Linked DNA regions of Homo sapiens: all the other regions are linked to region 6. The links are contacts of gene promoters, found by promoter capture Hi-C in blood cells and fetal thymus (Javierre and others, 2016). All regions are on one chromosome and are shown on one strand. The core of a region is centred on a gene start or on the middle of the fragment in contact, and the rest is flanking DNA. Distances in the headings are between cores, read along the strand shown.

Region 1 (2,700 bases), core at 199-2,698, 760 kb after region 6:
CAGGTCTTGTTCTAGTTGGAGATGCAGGTGGTGTTGTGGGTTAAGTGTTTTTCCCCATCCAAAATTCATGTTGTAACTTGATCTTCAATGCAACAGTATTAAGAGTTGAGACCTTTAGGAGGTCCCTGAGTCATGAGGGCTCTGCCCTCCTTCATGGAATTTGGTTCTCTTTTAAAAGGGCTTGACAGAGGAAATTTGCCCTTTTCCCTCCTTTAGTCCCTTCCCTGATATGAGAACACAGCACTCCTCCCCTTTGGAGTACATGACAGTGAAGTGCCATCTTGGAGGCAAACAGCAGCCCTCACTAGACAGCAATCCTGCCAGAGCCATGATCTTGGACTTCTTAGCCTCCATAACTATTTTTTTAAAAAAGTATCTGTTCTTTCCAATTACCCAGTCTGTGGTATTTTGCTACAAGAACGCAAATGGACAAAGATGGTGGGTAAACAAGTGTAGGTGTCATAAAAACCAAGACACAAAGGGGGGTCAAGTCTTCCTCAGAGAGTAGGTTAATGACAGTCCAAATCATTAAGAAAGATATAAATTCTCCCAGTGTCTACTGCATGTCTAGCAGTAGATATAGCCTTCCCTGAGTCTGATGTTGCCCTTAGCTGTGAACACTTTGACTCAAGTTGAAGAAGTTTTTACCTTGTGGTTTTCCTTCATAGCTGGCAGGCAATGGGCTACATGGACTATGGAGTCTGAAAGACAGGGTGCCTCTCACAAAGCCTGACCAGAAGGGAGAATAGGAGGCAGCCAATGTAGAACTGGTGCCTGAAGGGTGATCTGTAGGGAGCCGGAGCACTTTGTCCAACAACTATCAAATACAAGACCTACCACCCTCACACTCTTGGCTCAGTCATTCTTCATCTGAGGGTTGCTAAAATAGTGTAGGCCTTTATTGCATTTATTATTTATACACTGATGCCTACTCCCAAGAATAATGTAAGCTTACTTGAAGTCACACATACAACATAACCAATGAAAGAATACAATAATGTTTTTAAATAATTAAGGAGGTAATAAGTAGGTAGTTTAATCTAGTTTTATGCAACTGAGCATTAAATTTAGCTCTATTTTTACTGATAGTCAAAGGGAAAAAGAAAGAAGATGAGGGAGAACAGGATGAGTTCACATGCTTTTATCAACATAAAAAGAAAACGAGCAATTTAGAAACGTCTTTATTCTTCTAGGACAAAATTCTAAGAGGGAGTATAGTGTAAGGATATTTCTGTAAAGAGGATTAGGTAATTAATAATAGTACAAAGGATGAAGATACATAAATACAGCTTGTGGGTGTTGGGGAGGGTATGAATTCTGAATAAAAGCTGAAGGCAAATTGTTAAAGTTTTTGAAAGGTCTTTCTATAGTGAGCCAATAAAGTGACAATAACTCCCACTATTATATGTTGATGCCGTATTAGGGCTTTACATATTTTTTCCCTAACAATGTTGGGAGGTACATATTACTGTTCTTCTAGAAGTTTCCTAGGGGAACTGTGAGAGATTGAGGATCTTGGTCATGTAAAGCTAAGACATGAATCTGGATCTTCATGGTCTAAAGTCACATTCTTTCCATTCTACTCATCCAGACATGTAGATTTCTATTGATTTGGTATGGAGATAGAGTAAAACAATGTGGAAAATGCTAGTTATCATGTTCCCGTATCTCCAGAAACCACTGTCCAAGTCCAACTTTTGACACAATCAAGAGAGCAAAACACTTGAGTTTGAGTTAACTGAAAAATGCTTGCAATATTAGTATTTTCCAAAACAAACTTCAGATGTTTTATATACCATATCATTAAGAGGAAAAACTGGTTTTCTTTCAAATGAAAATTAGAGCCAGATACAGACTTCCCAAGTTGACGAGTAAATTATATCCTTGCACAAAAGTAGACTGGGGCTGATGAGGATTAGGGCCAAAATTTTTCACAATAAAGCTTGAAAGCAGCATCTATCATTAAGGACTCCTGCTTGAAAGTGATAGAAACTCAATTTGAACCCATATTGAGAAAGAGGAATTTGTTATCTCCCAAAATCTAAAGAAGCAGTGAATATCCAAACCATGTGAAAGAAAGCACTGAGTTGGGTCTCAGGAACTGAATGTGTCAGGAACTTGAATGATGCCAGGTTTCTCTTTCATTTACTTTCTCTCTCTCACTTACATTCTTTCTCTCTCTCTTCCCCGCCTCCCCTCTGTGCCAACTTTGTCTCACACTGAGTCAGTCTTTCTCTTCATGGCAGGAAATATGATCACTGACAGTTCCTAAGTTTTACATCTCAATTCCATCACAGGACAAGATTGCCTAACACACACCACACCAACTCCCCAACAAACAACAAAAACAACCCAAGGAATGCCCGTGATTTGAATGGCTTGGTTTGGTTACCCATCCTTAGAGTCCTCAACATTTCTAGGAGGCAGAGTTGCAGTGGAAGGAGGAGTAGTTTCCAGAAGAATGAGTTGCTTTTTTTTCAGAAGGAGGCAGGGGTGGTTAGTAGACAAATAATAAATATTCTTCCCAAGATTGTCTTGTCTCAGTGGCTTTTAAAAGTGCAGACTAACAACTGTCAGATTCTTCTATACAATAGAATATGTTTTGTTTAATTGATGGATTAAACTTTATTTATCAATACTTTATCTTATTTCAAAAGAGATTTAAGATCTTGGGCAACATAAAATATAGCAATAAGCTAC
Region 2 (2,772 bases), core at 204-2,703, 660 kb after region 6:
TGGACTCGCTTTGTAACAACCAACCCTTGAGATAACTAACCCGCTCCTGCAATAATGACAATTAATCCACTCATGAGGGTTCCACCCTCATGACTGAGTCACATATAATTAGGCCCCACCTCCTAATATTATTCACTGGAGTTTAAGCTTCTAACACGTGAACTTTTGGGGGATACATTCAAACCATAGCAGATGATGAGCAAAAGTACATACGATCCCTTATCTATTGAGCTTACAGCTTAGAGGAGAACATACATTTCTTAAAATGTTTCTTAAATACTTAGATAAATATTAAATTGCAATTGAGATAACTTTCACAAATGAAAAAAAGGAAAATTCTAACTATAACAGGTTTCATTAAAAAAATAGTTTGTTCTATAACATCATACAATTGGGATGCTGACAACTGAGCTGTGATCTGAAACATTAACATGAGCTAGGTAAAGAGGAAAAGGAAAAATCCTCTATTGTAGAGGAAACAGAAAATATTAATGTAAATAGATCATGTGGCAGAAATAGCGTGGCTAGAATGTAAAGAGCTAGGGAGATGATGGTGGATAGAGAGACTAGGTAGGTAGAGATGGGACCATGGAGGATGTTATTTGCCTTGTTAAAGAATTTTATTTTTTTTCTTAAGAGTAGTAGGAGCTATTGAAACGATTTAAACACAGTGGTTGGGGGTCATTTTGTGGTTAGATTTGTATTTCAAAAGATCACTCTAGTTGCAGTGTGGAGAGTGGCTTAGAAGAGGGTAAGAGTGGATGTTAGGATATTAATTGATTGTCTATAAGAAGTAATCTAGGCAAGTGGTGCTGGCACTTTTGATTTGGACTAGGTTTGTCCTAAAGATAACAGAAAAAAGTGGATAAGGCAAAATTAACAAGCCTCAGTGACAGATCAGGAGATACCAAGATTTCTGACTTGCATAAATCCATGAATGGTGACTGGTTTCCCCAGTGAATACTACCAGAAAAGAAGCATGGGCCAGTGGCTCACACTTCTAATCCCAGCACTTTGGGAGGCTGAGGCGGGTGGATCATCTGAGGTCAGGAGTTTGAGACCAGCCTGGCCAACATGATGAAGCCTCGTCTCTACTAAAAATACAAAAATTAGCTGGACATGGTGGCAGACGCCTGTAATCCCAGCTAGTCGGGAGGCTGAGGCAGGAGAATCGCTTGAACCTGGGAGGCAGAAGTTGCAGTGAGCTGAGATTGCACCGTTGCCCTCCAGCCTGGGCGACAGAGCAAGACTCTGTCTCAAAAAAAAAAAAAAAAAAAAAAAGATGAAGCATGTGTGCAAAAAGATTATGAATTTGAGATTTCGGCAAGTTGAGTTTGAGACGGCTTTGGGACCTCAAAAAAGAGGTAACATATAGCAATTGAATTGATTTGAGCTAAAAATATAAATCTGTGGACCTTTGCATAGCAGTGATGCATTGGTTCTTTCAGATGTTGCTAACTCCCAGCAACCATCAAGGTAACTTAATTCAATCTAAATATTTGTTGATCATCTTCAGAATAAGTGTTGTAGGTGTGGGAAGGATATTTTTATTATTATTTTATGGCTTCTGAAGAGAATATATGCCCATTGTGAAAAAATTTGAACTGTACATAAAAGTATAAAGAAAATTACAACCCGGACATGGTGGCTCACACCTGTAATCCCAGCACTTTGGGAGGCTGAGGTGGGAGGATCACTTGAGCCCAGGAGTTCAAGATCAGCCTGGGCAACATAGGGAAGCCCTGTCTCTACAGAAAATAAAAAAATTAGCCAGGCATGGTGGCACACACCTATGATCTCAGCTACTTGGGAGGCTGAGGTAGGATCACTTGAGCCCAGGAAGTTGAGGCTGCAGTGAGCTAAGATGGTGCCACTGCACTCGAGCCTGGGCAACAGCAAGACCTTGTCTCAAAAAAACAAAAAGAAAATTACAAAATTACACTCATAGTCTTCATTTGAAGATCTTTTCTATATAGATGTTTATATATTTGAGCTTATTCTGCATGCACAATTTTATATTCCTTTTTTTTTTTCCACTTCATATCCAAAGCAGTTTTTCATTAAGTCCTCACAAATAAATATATGGAAAACTGTTTAGGGTATGTTAAGTGGGCAGGTGGAGGGGAATAGAATATAAAATTGACTGTGCCCAGTAAAGAGATAAACAAGAAGTCCCATGCTCTAAAGCTAACAAATACAAGGCATGCTGAATCAGAAAAGAAAAATAGTTCTATTTTGTGGGATTACTATAATTTATTTATTTGAGTCATTTTTCTACATATTGTTGCTATGAATATCACTGTGTAAGTAAATCTTATCTATATTTTTATTACTCTCTTAGGCTTCTTTTCTAGGAGAATTATTAGATAAAGGGTATGAGAAATATTGCATCAGAGAATATTCTTCATGTCATCTGTGTGCTTAGAAATTCTTTTTTCCAATCCAGCAAATCTTGCATCTATTGGTTTCAGAGCATGGTATTTCTTATATATGTCTTACCAAGTACATTCAGTTGAGTGGTTTTTTGGTTTAACTTCTGATAACAGTTTCAGATTTTTGAATTAAGTATAAGCTGTATGTAATGAATGGTTGCATAAATCTAACATTATTTTAGCACCTAGCCCAAAACCTAGGGCAGAATAGATGCTCAATAAGTATAAATGGAATTGGAATTGAATTTCAGATTTAAGAGCCTATACAGCCTGTATTTTAATTCATGGAAAGTTCTATGTGCTGTGTAATGTCTGTAGAAAAGCTTCTGCAAACTAGTAA
Region 3 (2,704 bases), core at 111-2,610, 630 kb after region 6:
GAAATTTGAGAACTATGCCCTTGGCTAGGAAATACTCAATACTCACCCCATGTATTGCAGAATATATAACCACTGTGATAAAATTTGTCTTTATGATTTTCCCCATTAAATTTCAGTGTCTTGGACAAGGGTCTGATTCTGTATCCTTTTTCTTTTTCTTTCTTTCTTTCTTTTTTTTTTTTTTTTTTTTTTTGAGACGGAGTCTCCCTCTATTGTCCAGGCTGGAGTGCAGTGGCCCAATCTCGGCTCACTGCAACCTCCACCTCCTGGGTTCAAGTGATTCTCCTGCCTCAGCCTCCCGAGTAGCTGGGACTACAGGTGCGCACCACCATGCCCAGCTAGGTTTTTTTGTATTTTTAGTAGAGACAGGGTTTCACCATATTGGCTAGGCTGGTCTCAAACTCCTGAGCTCATGATCTGCCTTCCTCAGCCTCCCAAAGTGCTGGGATTACAAGCGTGAGCCACTGCACCCGGCCTCTGTATGCTTTTTCTATTTGTAAGCGAAAAAAAAGAGCCCTAAATGATGTGAATCCAAAGGAAACTCCTTTGGTCTGTACTTCTGCAACTCACCTTTACTTCATGAACTCACAACTATTATATTTACAGTACCCCACAGGAAAGGAGGGAAATAATTGAGGCACCCAAATCTCTTTATTATCATTTGGGAAAATTAGAAAGCTTTACGTTGTCTGACCCATCCAGAAAAGTGATTCCCATCAGCACAACACAACTGGTGAATTGTTTTCCTTGTCAATTCATTCTGTTTGAACCCATTGGACAATTACATTTTAATTTGTCTTCTTAGCTACATTCTTCTCCTTCTGGACAAGAGAAATATCATTTCAAAAAATCAGTACTGTCAAAAAATAGAGAACCATATTATATAGCTAGAGAAGACTTCATTAAAATAACAATTACTCAAAAGGCTGAGTAATTCAGAGGTCTCCAAATTTTAAGGTAATTCAATAGTATTTGGGAACATGAAGAATATCTAAAAATACTCATTTCTGAAATATTTATTTTTCAAAAAAGGCATCTTCAGTCCCAACTTCTTTGAAATCATGTTTTAAGACACTTCAGGCATTTTAATCAATGCTGAAAATTTTCTCAAAACATTATTTAGGATATATTTTCCAATTAGGAGTTTTGTTTCATGTACTTAAGATACGGTTGTTAACACCTGTATTTGTGGAGGTTTTTTTCTATTTATTTTCATGACACTTTTGGTATGTTAAAGGTATGAAACAGATTTCCAGGAATGAAGTCCCAGTTTATAACACTGTGGCTACAAGAAATAAGGGTTTGATTTACATAAGCTCAGTTTTTTAGCCAACCAGGAATCAATTAGTTCATAAGCTGGAGATTATCTGCTCAAGTGGTTCCCAAACATCTGTCTCTGTATTGGTTTCACTGGAGTTACCTGAGATGGTTGGATGGTTTGGTTAATTTTTTAAAAATGAACTCCCAGGAGCTCATAGTCAACATGGGGGTGTTATGGCATAAGAACATAATTAGGCCGGGTGCAGTGGCTCACGCCTATAATCCCAGCACTTTGGGAGGCCCAGGCAGGCAGATCACTTGAGGTTGGGAGTTCGAGACCAGCCTGGCCAACATAGCAAAACCCTGTCTCTGCTAAAAGATATAAAAATTAGCCAGGTGTGGTGGTACGCACCTGCAAGCCCAGCTATTCAGGAGGCTGAGGCAAGAGAATCGCTTGAAACCAGGGGGCGGAGGTTGCTGTGACCTGAGATTGCGCCACTGCACTCCAGCCTGGGAGACAGAGTGAGACCCCATCCTAAAAAACAAATGAACAAACAGACAAAATAACATAATTAGTAATTATATACTATTATTGTGTGGTATTTAAAAATATTTAAGAATTTAAATTTATTTAAAGGCCTAATGAGGAGTTCAGAAATTTAACAGGGCTTAAAGGAAATGGAATTCAGATCTAATTTTGTCATTGTCCCAAGGTGACCTAAACAACACACAAATGTGGAAGTCAGAGCATGGCGCTGCCCTGCTAGTGGACGGAAGCTTTGGAAAGGTTCTTCATTTTCTGGCAAGCATCATTTTATGTTAAGATTATTATGAGTAAGATTTCTGGCAGAGACACAACAAAAAAAGAGAATTTTAGACCAATATCCCTGTTGAACATCGATGCAAATATCCTCAATAAAATACTGGCAAACTGAATCGGGCAGCACATCAAAAAGCTTATCCACCATGATCACATGGGCTTCATCCCTGGGATGCAAGGCTGGTTCAACATATGCAAATCAATAAATGTAATCGAGCATATAAACAGAACCAACGACAAAAATCACATGATTATCTCAATAGATGCAGAAAAGGCCTTTAACAAAATTCAACAACTCTTCATGCTAAAAACTCTCAATAAATTAGGTATTGATGGGACGTATCTCAAAATAATAAGAGTTATCTATGACCAGCCCACAGCCAGTATCATACTGAATGGGCAAAAACTGGAAGCATTCCCTTTGAAAACTGGCACAAGACAGGGGTGCCCTCTCTCACCACTCCTATTCAACGTAGAGTTGGAAGTTCTGGCCAGGGCAATCAGGCAGGAGAAGGAAATAAAGGGTATTCAATTAGGAAAAGAGGAAGTCAAATTGTCCCTGTTTGCTGACGACATGATTCTATATCTAGAAAACCCCATCGTCTCAGCCCAAAATCTCCTTAA
Region 4 (2,700 bases), core at 68-2,567, 640 kb after region 6:
TTTGTTTTTGCTTTTTATTTCCTTGTGTGTGGATCCAGATTTCCATCTGATGTCATATTTCTTCTACCCAAGCGCTTCTTACATTACTTAGATTGTAGGTATACAGGTGATAAGTCCTTTTGGCTTTTGTTGATCTTTTTTTCACCTTCATTTTTGAAAGATATTTTGCTGGGTTTAGAGCTGTGGGGTGGGAGCAGTGTCTAAACCAGAGAAATAGGGCCAATCTGGAGAGAAGTCCTCACTTTTCAGTAATTTAATTATGGCATACCTTATTGTGATTGTTCTTTATGTTTGCCCTGATTGGGTTTCATTGAGCTTCTTGGTTTTCTGAGTTGATGGTTTTTATAGAAGTTGGAAAATTTTCATGCATGATTTTTTCAAAAAGTTTTTTGTATCCTTTCCATTCTTTGCTGCTGAGATTCCAGTTTTATGCATGTTTGACTCCTTAACATTGTCTAGTAGGTTTCTGATGTTCTATTTATTGTTTTTTCAGTCTTTGTTTATCTCTACTTCATTTTTGACAGTTTCTGTTGTTACTGTTGTTTCCATTGTTTAAGCTTATTCTGCTTCTTTTTTTCTTTGCCATTTCTAATCTGCTGGTAATCTCATACAATGTGTTTTTCGTTTTAGATGTTGCATTTCCATCTGCATAAATTCTATAGGAGTCACTTGTATATCTATCATTTTTCTTTGTCATATTCATGTTTTCCTCTACCTTTAACATATTGAGAATATTTACAGTAGCTGTTTGAATGTTTGTTTCTGCTAATTATATCATCTGTGTCTTTTCTGGGGCTTTTTGATTTTTTTCTTGTAATGGGTCTTATTTTTCTGTTTTATTTTCATTTTTTTTGCGTGCCTGATAATTTTAGATTTGATGCCAGACATTTGTGTTGGATTTTGTTTCGCTCTTTTAAGTATTGTTGGGCTTTGTTCTGAGGGGCAGTTAAATTACTTGGGATTGAGAGATTTACCTTCCTATTATATTGCTTATTAAATGTATTTCTACAATTTATTTTATTTTATACAACAAATTGCCTTTACTATTAAAGACTAGCAAAACCATTAGAATTTATTTGATAAATGAGATTATGGTTAATATGTTCATTCCTTAGTCATAATGACCTGGTAAAAAAATTACTCATTGCCTTATATCTCACAGAAGATTTCATATTATGTTTATGGGCTATGAATTTATGCTGAATTTCTCATCTGGTAACCCTTAAATACTAAATCATCTCTTGTTATACCTCCTGTTGTTTCATTTGTCCTCTAGAGTTCACAGTTACCAGCCAAGAAAACTTGAAAATGAGCAGCCGACGGAAACGTGCTCCTCCAGTGAGGGTAGATGAGGAAAAGAGGCAGCAGCTTCATTGGAATATGCATGAGGACAGAAGGAATGAACCTATCATCATAAGTGATGATGACGAGCAGCCCTGCCCAGGTTCAGATACCTCTTCTGCTCATTATATCATTCTAAGTGATAGTCTAAAGGAAGAAGTGGCTCACAGAGATAAGAAGAGGTGTTCAAAAGTGGTGAGCTTCTCAAAACCAATTGAAAAAGAAGAGACTGTTGGTATTTTTTCCCCTTTGTCTGTAAAGTTAAATATTGTGATTTCTCCCTATCATTTTGATAATTCCTGGAAAGCATTTCTAGGAGAATTAACTCTTCAGCTTCTTCCTGCACAGAGTTTAATTGAAAATTTTTCCGAAAGGAGTATTACATTGATGAGTTCAGAGTCAAGCAATCAGTTCCTGATTTATGTTCATTCAAAAGGTGAAGATGTAGAGAAACAAAAAAAAGAACCGATGAGTATTTGTGACAAGGGTATTCTGGTGGAGTCATCCTTCAGTGGTGAAATGTTAGAAGATTTGGGGTGGCTACAAAAGAAGAGAAGAATAAAACTCTATCAGAAACCAGAAGGAAATCACATTATCAAGGTACTCAGTTTTTTGTGGTGTCTTTTTTGAGGCTCTTCTACATTGGCAGTCCAATTTTAAATTAACTTGTGAGAGAAGTCTGAAAAGCCAGCAATAAGCCTTTCATTGTTAAGTTTCAAAGTACACTTTAAGCTTTTAATAACTATTCAAAGTATGTTACAACTAATCATTTTCAGGCTACACTTTTTCAAGATCTTCCATCTCTACTTTCAGTGACTTGTTTTGGTCCTCATCATCAGTTCCTCTTACTGCAGCAGTCATTTAACCATTTATCTGTTTGCTATTTTGCCTTTTCAAATGCTTCGATTTTGTCTCTGGAATTGTATGATTGAATGCAAATGAAATTCTACCCATTACTGCCTACAGAATTAAGTATAATCTTTCTAATCTGGCACACAAGTTCCTCCCTTGACAAGCCCTTGAGCCTTACCCTTTATTACTCTGCTTTTTATTTTGTCCCAGAAACTCCAAATTGATTTATTTTCTCCATATACCACACTGACTTTCTGCGTCTTTGCTTTTGTTCTTATAGTTCCTTCTGCTTGAGTTGTTCCCTTCCCCTTCCCTGGTAATTCCTGGTTATTCTTTAATATTTAGTATAGCATTTAATTCACCCAGGGAGATCGTTTCTTAAATCTATTGGTAGTATTATGTGCCCTCTCCTCAGAATCTCTGGTAGATTTTTTTTTTTGGCCTTGGCGGCTTGTCACATACTTAACATTTTAGATCATTCCCCTCTGCTAAACTATGAAGCCTTTC
Region 5 (2,700 bases), core at 113-2,612, 680 kb after region 6:
AGTTTGAGACCAGCCTGGCCAACATGGTGAAACCCTGTCTCTACTAAAGATACAAAAAATTAGCTGGAATGGTAGCACACGCCTGTAATCCAGTTCCCAGGAGGCTGAGGCAGGAGAATCGCTTGAACCTGGGAGACAGAGGTTGCAGTGAGCTGAGATTGCGCCATTGCACTCCAGCCTAGGCGACAGAGCGAGATTCCATCTCAAAAAAAAAAGATAACAGGAAAAATGTCTCAACATTCCTGAACATAAGTTTTTTAAATGTAAGATTTCTATACTTTAAATATGATAGTCAAAATAAAAAGACAGTTATCTTGTACGTCATTGTTTATATGTTAAAATATTTTTTAAAACCTAAAATTTTAAGGATATAAATATTCTACCTAAGAAAATCCAATTTGGCTGTTAATAAAAGAAAAAGCATTTAATCTATAATGATGGAAAATCAAATTACACAGGTGCTATTTTCTGCCAACAATTAGGCACAGATTTTTTAAATGATTACACACCCCAGTGGTGAAAAAGGACAGGGAATGGATACATTTTATGCATTACCAATGGAAATATAAATTTATATAAGCTTTTCTTAAAAGCACTTTAACAATATCTGTCAACAATTTTATGTAGGTTGAACATCTCAAATCCAAAACTGGAAATGCTCCAGTGAGCATTTCCTGTGAGCATTGCATCAGCACTCAAAAAGTTTATGATTTTAGAGCGTTTTAGATTACAGATTTTTGGATTTGGAATGCTCAACCTGTATGTGAAAGAAAGGAAAAGGAAAACTGGACAACATAAGATGAACTGGAATCTATACAGTAGGATTAAATGAACATTATAGAACTGCAGAAATACAGTATCTGAAATCAAAAACTCATTGGAGACCAGACACAGAAAAAGATGGGATTCATGAACTCAAGTACAGTACAAATGAAAATACCCAATTTGAAGTGGCATAGATAGAAAAAGAACAAAATAGGGCAAAAGAGATTTGAGACACAGTTGTTTGATCTAGCATACTTGTAATTTCATAGATCTAGCATACTTGTAATTGAAGTTCAAGAAGAAAAGAGAATAGGACAGAAGCTTGAAGAGATAATAGCTGAGAATTTTCTAAAACTCATAAAATTATGACAAATATCTTAAAGATTCAAGAAGTTCAGAAACACTAAGCAGAATAAGTAAAGAAAAAAACAAAATACTGCCTAGATACATCATAGTCAAACTGCTGGAAACCAAAAATAATGAAAAATAGAAATAAAAAAAGTTGAGAGATAAAACATTTAATACTTACAAAGGAACACTAATAAAACTGGTGGCTACATAGAGATGTTTTTCTTTTCACCTTTAAAGATGTTTCGGTATTTTCCATAGTTTCTCTATGTAACCAGTTGACATTGGAACATCTTCAAAATGCTAAAAGAAAAAAACAGCCAACCTAGAGTTCTATACTTAAAGAAAATTTCCTTTTTTTAAAAAAAGTGAAATAAGGATATTTTCAGACAAACATAAACTGGAAGAATTCATCTCCAGTAAACACACATCACAATAAATATTAAAGGAACTTCTTTGGATGGAAGGAAAATTATTTCAGATTGAAGGATGCAACTACAGTAAGGAATGAAGAACAAAAGCTTAAATATGTAGATAAATATGCAAGGATATTGACTATTTAAAAGCAACAATGCTGTCTTATGGGTTATACAACTTATATAGAACTAAAATATATGTCAGTAGCACAAAGGAAAGAGGTAAGCAGAGGATTATTAAGATTTAATTTAATTTATTTAAATTTATTAAAATTTATTTTATTATAATTGTATTATAATATTTATATTTATAATTATATATTTATAATTCTGCCAAAATATATTTATAATTATATTTTATTATAAATTTATTTATAAGTTTATTAAAATTTATAAAATTTATTAAAATAATGTAATTATTTTAAGATAATTTAATCTATTTTAAGATTCCTTCAGAGGAATGGACAAGAAAGTCCGTAAGGATATTGAACATTTGAACACTAATGAACAAATATGACCCAACTGACACAGACCATTACACCCAACAGCTTCAGAATACATATTTTTTAGGTGTACGTGGAACATTTATCAAAATAGACCTTATGCTAATTCAAAAAGCCGCTCTTAAAAGTATGTGAGAGTATGTTTTCTGACTGAAGAGGAATTTAAACCAGAAATCAGTAATGGAAAGATAACTGGATAAATCCCTAAAAGTTTAATAGAAATTGACAGGATACTTCTGAATAACCCATGGGTCAAAGAAGAAGTCAAAATGGAAATTAGAAAATACTCTGAACTGAGTGAAAGTAAAAATATGTGACAGTGCTTAGAGGAAAATTTATAACTTCTTTAACTTAAGGATCTGCAAATTACCATGCATGGGAAAAATTCAGCCCGCTGCCTTTTTTCGTAAGTAAAGTTTTATTGGAATATGGTCACACTCATTCATTTACGTATTGTCTGTGGCTGCATTCATGCCACATTAGTGGAATTGAGTTGTTACAACACAGATCATATGGCCCACAAGGCCTAAAATATTTATAATCTCACCATTTATATAAATGTCAACTCTTTATTGACATATTGGAAAAGAAGAGCTGTTGTGAATTATGATAGATTGTTTACAAAGTGCTACAGCAATGACCCTCCCATTCTTGTTGCTCTTTGGAAC
Region 6 (2,700 bases), core at 53-2,552:
AAAGCAATCCTATTAAAATTACATATGTAATATTTATATAAAATTATATATGTAATATTACTTATATATGTAATATCTAAAATTTAAGCTAGTAAAAGGAATGGATTATCTGCCGGGTAACTGGAAACCTGCTTATGAGAGAGGTTAGAACTAAGGGACTAGAGATTCACAGACATGGGAATGAGTCTGGGAGAAGAATTCACAAAGAAAAAGAGTTTAAATCCTAGGGATCAGTGAATCATAGGGATCAGTCCAATGTGGAATTCTTCAGCCAGGGAAGGAAATGGAGAAACAGGCATCAAGGATGTAAGAATTCAATTTGAAATGATTGATTGCATCGCCCTCCCCATCAGGCAGAGCATGAAGAACATGAATGATCCCACTGAAGCAGGGCGGGCAGCTGGGATTCTCTCACAGTGGGAATGAACATTAGAAATGGTGTAAGTTCAAACAGCCCCAATCCTATGCTGTGGATAACTGGATATCCCTAGGGAAACAGACCACAGAAAATAATAATCATGGGGAAGTACATCCTAAGACACAACACCTAACACCAGCCCAGGACAAAGGCACCATAAAAATTCCATGAGCGAGGGTCTGTTTACTTTCTCAGAGTAAATGTTAGTAACATGAACTATACATTTATAATGTTTTAAGGTTTAGAAGCCACTTTACGTCTGACTATATCTGATTAAAGATCGTAGTCGTTGGACTGGGCAGATGCAAACTAGAAAATCACCATTAAGGTGAAATGTGTCCATGTCTGTCTGTCACTCGCTGTCTGTATCATTTCCGGGGCCATGAAGATGTGGCTTTAACCAGAAGTATTTGAGATATGCCTCTTTCTTAGGAAAGCTATGGCCTTTCTAACTGCCTGAGAGGGCTATGAAGAAGAGGAGGGGTGGCAGATTCACCCATGGGAGCTGAACACCCAAAGCAAGAAAATCAGGGGCTCTGGGAAAGGAAGTGAGTCAAGACAAGCAAGAGAGAAGGATGAGAGCGAGCACCTCCAGGATCTGGTTTACCAGAGAAGACAAGCTGCGAGGAGGCCACTAAACTTCTGCCCTGGCACAGTTTGCTGCAGGGAGGCAGCCCCAGAACTAGTGGTGAGGTCGAGGGGCTAGGCCAGGGGAGGGACGGACAGGCAGAGGTCCCTTACTCTTTCGATTTATCCGATCCGTGCGCCGAGTTGATACGATGCACCTCTTTCTTTTTGGTTTGTTTGGAGGCCATGGCAGAAGCCGATCTATGTAGGGCTGAGCTCTGAGCAAAGAGCCTGCGGGCGCGCTCGGCTCCGCGTCTGCGTTGCCAGGAGACGGCGTCCCGCGTCCAGCGCCCGGAGAGCGGGGGCGGGGCCCTGGGGGCGGGCTCTGCGGCCTGTGGCTGCAGAGGGACGCAAGAGCATAAACTGAAATCCCACATCCCCGTGGAGGAACTTGGAGTTGGTGTCTGGGGAGAAATCGAGGTTCTGGGGCACGGGTTTGGCATTAGGATTACTGGGCAGCCCTGATTAATTGGAGTTCTGCAGGACCTACACTGCCTGGCTTTGCCCTTCGGAACCATAGACATATATCGACTCTTGAATATCCAACTATTTGAACGTAGATGTTATCCTAGTACCACCCCAGTTATTCTCTTGGCTAAATATAACAAGTACCTTCAATAATTACTAAGGAGACATTACAGACACGCTGAAATTGTCAATGGCTTGAAAACCTGGGGTCCAGAAATTAACACAGTGGGTGTAAGGAAGGCAAAATAATGACACCTTGAGTCGCTGAGGGCTAGGTGATGATATCTGTAATAAAACCAATAAGGTGTCTTGTTGTTCGAATGAAAGAGTGAGTCCAAGTCATGGGCTCAGGTGGTCCTTTGCAGACTTTCCAGAAAAGGTCCAGGGGCCAGATGACACAGACAGAACCAAGTAAAATGAAACTTATTAGGGCGCAGGCTTAAGGCTCAGTCATCAGTGGTGATTTGTTAGTTATCTTGCCTTGGGCTAGTTTTTCCCTTTGAGTCTCAGTTTACTCACTTATAAATAGGAGATGCCTATTACTCACTTATAAATAGGAGTTATACCTAACTCACAGTTCTGTTTTGAGGATAAGATGCAAAGCGCAGCAAATAGGAGCCACTCTTTCAGAGATGACAGACCACCTGGTTTCGAGGAGCAGCAGACAGCGTGAATGAATGAAGTTGGCCAGGTAAATACAGAGTAGTGGATACTATGCTTAACTGAGACATGCTTAGACTGCAAGAGCTTGCAAATTTATCAAAACAAAACAAAATATTGTGTTGGTTCAATATAACCTCACTTCAGAGATATCTGACACACAGCCCTTAGGCCTAGGACCACTACTACTGGTTGGTGTCTTTCATGAGCCTAGAAATAGTTAAGTATCTTTAAATAAAAGAAATCCCCTCCACTCATGGGACTGGGCACATGCTCACAGTTCCACCTGTGCAGGCAAGAGGCAGCTTCCTGCAGAGAAAATCTTTCAACTTCTCTGACAAATGAATGCTCAGGGCTCTCCACTCAGCATAGCCTATGGTTTGTCAGACTATCCCAATCTTATTACTATTGGATTACTACTGGGGGTTACCTAGATGACAGACAGCCCCTTCGTTGTATTTCTATATGCAAAATAAATAAATTCCAAGTCAGCAGTGTTAATATTATGACTACAAGACTGCCCTGCA
Region 7 (2,700 bases), core at 104-2,603, 700 kb after region 6:
ACTGAAATAGGTTCTTTGTAGTACATTTCTAATCTTGCAAGTACACTTGAAAGTCTACATACCCAGAGAAAATAAGTGTAGAATCATGATTTTAGCATGAGGATTTTAAAACTTTTTCCATTATTCTATCTTGCTGGCTTAAAATTAGTACAGCTTTCTTTCTTGTTTTGTTTATATTTTTACCTTTGAATGTTTCTTCATGTAAAAGTGTGTTGAGAGGATTGAGGGAGAGGGTTTATGCTGCTGTGGAAATATTTTTCCTTCTTTTTGGTTAAATCTGCTCCCCCTTGTGGTATAATCTAGGTCATTATAGTGCTCATATTTAATATCTCAGAAAGATAATAAGTTCTTGAGTGTTTACTCCTTACCAGATGTTAGGCTAAATGCTTCGTATACATTTTCTCATTCAATCATCACAGCCACCTTTGGAAAGAGATATAATTATCATTCAGCCCTATTGGATAGATGAGGAAACACAGGATTAGAAACTATAACTAGTGAGTTGTAGAACTATGAGTTGAACTTAAATTTGTCTCATTCAAAATCCCATAACCTTAATTTCTCTGTCATACCATCTCCAAGAGCACTCCAGAAGGAAAACTTTCTCATTGAGGGCTACAGAAATACTTGCACTATTTTCCTCATTTTCTTATTTCTCCATTTTAAAAATCATTTTTTCACTTTCATCCTCATCTGATAGAAATGGTTATGGAAGATGCAAAAAAAAAAAAACACACAGTTTTAAGTGTCTAGCTTTGTATGAATCTGCCTCATTCTAAGTGAGCATCATTTGTACCTCTGTCATTGTTTTTGGTAATACCCTTGCAAGAAAACATTCTCCATTGGTTGGATCCTTCACTGTTTGCTTACATTGGGAGTTTTGATTCATTGTATTCTTAACATTTCTAATGACATAATATCTGAAGAAAGGGAGAATAAATGAAGAGTGTTTTAAAATATCATTTCTGCTAATCTAATGTAACAAAATTTTGTAACTATAAAACCTGACTACTTAACTAAAAGATCCTATGTTCAGGGTCATAGCACTTAATGACTTTCTGGCATGCTTTTACATTCAAATGTCTGGGTGTAAATTTAATGACTTCTACATTTCGAGGCTAAAGAAAATTTCCAGCAAACACAAAATGAAAAAGAGTAAACACATATGCACCTGATAATTTGTTTTGATGCATTTATAGTTTTGATAATAAAAAGTACTTTGTATTGCTTTTCTATTCTGTTCTTAACTAGATTTTTTAGTAGTAATGTGTATTTTGTGTGTGTGTTCAAAGGGCAGCCATTCTACAAAAGTGGAAGCTGTGGTCAGAACTCTGATGAAAATACAGCTTAGAGATCCAGGGGCCAAAGCACTCGTTTTCTCAACGGTATAATCAACATTTTCATCCTCAATATTAATTCGAACTGATTTTCCCTCTCTAATCAGTTTACAGCTGAGAACTAATTTTTGATGTTTACTCTTAGATTTTTTTTCCCAAATCCATAAGATAGAATTATTTTTAGAGAAGATAGAATTATTTTTAGAGAAATGTGATGATGTTTCACAAGGCAATTTGTATAGCTATATTTCATGACTTTTTATTAGTTTCATTTAAGGATTTTCTTAGTTTAATATTTTTAAAATTGGAATTTCTGACTTTGAAAGTCTCATTTCACAAAAATTTGGGTTGAAAAAGACAATCTACTTTATAAAGTGTTGAGTAAAACCCTTAGTTTTCATTTTCGAAAACTAAGTAACTATATTCCAGTATGCACTCCATTATGTATTTTCTACTGTTTGTTTATCTTAATTACATTTTCAAAACCAGCATTTGATGCAAAAAAAAAAAAACAAACAAAATTACTATTTCAGATAGAGCTAAATAATATGGATGGTACTACATTTGAGGGTTTTGGTTTTGGTTTTATTTTCTTAACTCCAGTATAAAAGTCATTTTGATTTATTTCCTTTTCAGATACCCTTAGATAAAGGCTACGTGTAAATATTGGTTTTCTTATTGTTTTATGTGTTCTAGTGGCAAGATGTATTAGATATTATTTCAAAAGCTCTTACTGACAACAACATGGAATTTGCACAAATCAGTCGTGTTAAGACATTTCAGGTATGTTAAGATTTTACTCCGGTTTTTGTAGTGGATACAGTTGCAAATTTAAACTGCTGTTAACTAGCTTACTTACATTTATTGTCTCATGCCATATAAGCCACATAAACAGGGTCTGAGTTCTTGATTAATTATAAAGTGAACATTTAAAAGCAGAGACTGCAGGTATTTTCAGTATATAACAAGACCATTGGTTTTTTAAAGATCTCCCAACTTGAGGTTCTTTTTTTTTTTTAGTACAGGAAAAGATTGCCTATGATATACCTTTTGAATGGACAGGGGCCTCACACCCCAAGGATTAGTTTCTAAAGTCACTGTCAGGCAGAACTGCATGTGGTCACAGTTATCCTTACATCATGCTCAGCACAGTGACAGGCGTATGACCTCAGGCACACACAGAGACCAAATGAAAATTTAGCAGATTCATGTCTCTTATCTCACATTCACTCTAGCACATTCTTTTTCTCTTTTTCCTCTAACCTCATGTAGTTTAATTTGCATGCATTACATGCATCTGTCTTGTGATTCCTCTAGATATTACGAAGAACAAGAGAGCTTATATGATACTTTTCTTCATAAT

Evidence for each region. Contacts are between HindIII fragments. The CHiCAGO score rates a contact against its expected background, and 5 or more counts as called.
Region 1: a contact is called between a fragment that was not itself captured here and the fragment with the promoter of ADGB in region 6, in 2 of 17 cell types (M1 macrophages and M0 macrophages). The highest score is 5.7, in M1 macrophages.
Region 2: a fragment that was not itself captured here is called in contact with the fragment with the promoter of ADGB in region 6 in 1 of 17 cell types (M0 macrophages); the score reaches 6.3 in M0 macrophages.
Region 3: a fragment that was not itself captured here is called in contact with the fragment with the promoter of ADGB in region 6 in 2 of 17 cell types (monocytes and endothelial precursors); the score reaches 8.9 in monocytes.
Region 4: a contact is called between a fragment that was not itself captured here and the fragment with the promoter of ADGB in region 6, in 4 of 17 cell types (megakaryocytes, M0 macrophages, M1 macrophages and 1 more). The highest score is 9.1, in megakaryocytes.
Region 5: a contact is called between a fragment that was not itself captured here and the fragment with the promoter of ADGB in region 6, in 1 of 17 cell types (M0 macrophages). The highest score is 5.3, in M0 macrophages.
Region 7: a fragment that was not itself captured here is called in contact with the fragment with the promoter of ADGB in region 6 in 1 of 17 cell types (monocytes); the score reaches 6.7 in monocytes.

What each region holds. Positions count from the first base shown.
Region 1 is chr6:145,835,897-145,838,596 of GRCh38, reverse strand. The region is part of intron 2 of EPM2A-DT (EPM2A divergent transcript); the gene reads right to left. Among named protein-coding and RNA genes, the nearest start is that of FBXO30, 22 kb to the right of the region's middle. The HindIII fragment of the contact is 992 bases long and covers 953-1,944 here.
Region 2 is chr6:145,935,488-145,938,259 of GRCh38, reverse strand. The region is part of intron 11 of SHPRH (SNF2 histone linker PHD RING helicase); the gene reads left to right. Among named protein-coding and RNA genes, the nearest start is that of SHPRH, 27 kb to the left of the region's middle. The HindIII fragment of the contact is 2,608 bases long and covers 150-2,757 here.
Region 3 is chr6:145,972,006-145,974,709 of GRCh38, reverse strand. No RefSeq gene overlaps it. Among named protein-coding and RNA genes, the nearest start is that of SHPRH, 9.0 kb to the right of the region's middle. The HindIII fragment of the contact is 1,359 bases long and covers 681-2,039 here.
Region 4 is chr6:145,953,931-145,956,630 of GRCh38, reverse strand. It overlaps SHPRH (SNF2 histone linker PHD RING helicase), which reads left to right. Exons shown (of 30, transcript NM_001042683.3): 2 at 1,277-1,941. The coding sequence starts at 1,309. Among named protein-coding and RNA genes, the nearest start is that of SHPRH, 9.1 kb to the left of the region's middle. The HindIII fragment of the contact is 1,516 bases long and covers 560-2,075 here.
Region 5 is chr6:145,914,306-145,917,005 of GRCh38, reverse strand. All of the region lies in intron 23 of SHPRH (SNF2 histone linker PHD RING helicase), which reads left to right. LOC124901420 (a long non-coding RNA gene) reads right to left here and starts at 1,519. Exons shown (of 2, transcript XR_007059801.1): 1 at 1,295-1,519; 2 at 1-202. The HindIII fragment of the contact is 548 bases long and covers 1,089-1,636 here.
Region 6 is chr6:146,597,574-146,600,273 of GRCh38, reverse strand. It overlaps ADGB (androglobin), which reads right to left and starts at 1,302. Exons shown (of 36, transcript NM_024694.4): 1 at 1,160-1,302. The coding sequence starts at 1,233. It overlaps ADGB-DT (ADGB divergent transcript), which reads left to right and starts at 1,343. Exons shown (of 3, transcript NR_125860.1): 1 at 1,343-1,441; 2 at 2,103-2,204. RefSeq lists a silencer at 1,207-1,501. The HindIII fragment of the contact is 3,644 bases long and covers 1-2,700 here.
Region 7 is chr6:145,893,570-145,896,269 of GRCh38, reverse strand. It overlaps SHPRH (SNF2 histone linker PHD RING helicase), which reads left to right. Exons shown (of 30, transcript NM_001042683.3): 26 at 1,293-1,385; 27 at 2,034-2,120. Among named protein-coding and RNA genes, the nearest start is that of SHPRH, 69 kb to the left of the region's middle. The HindIII fragment of the contact is 3,992 bases long and covers 1-2,700 here.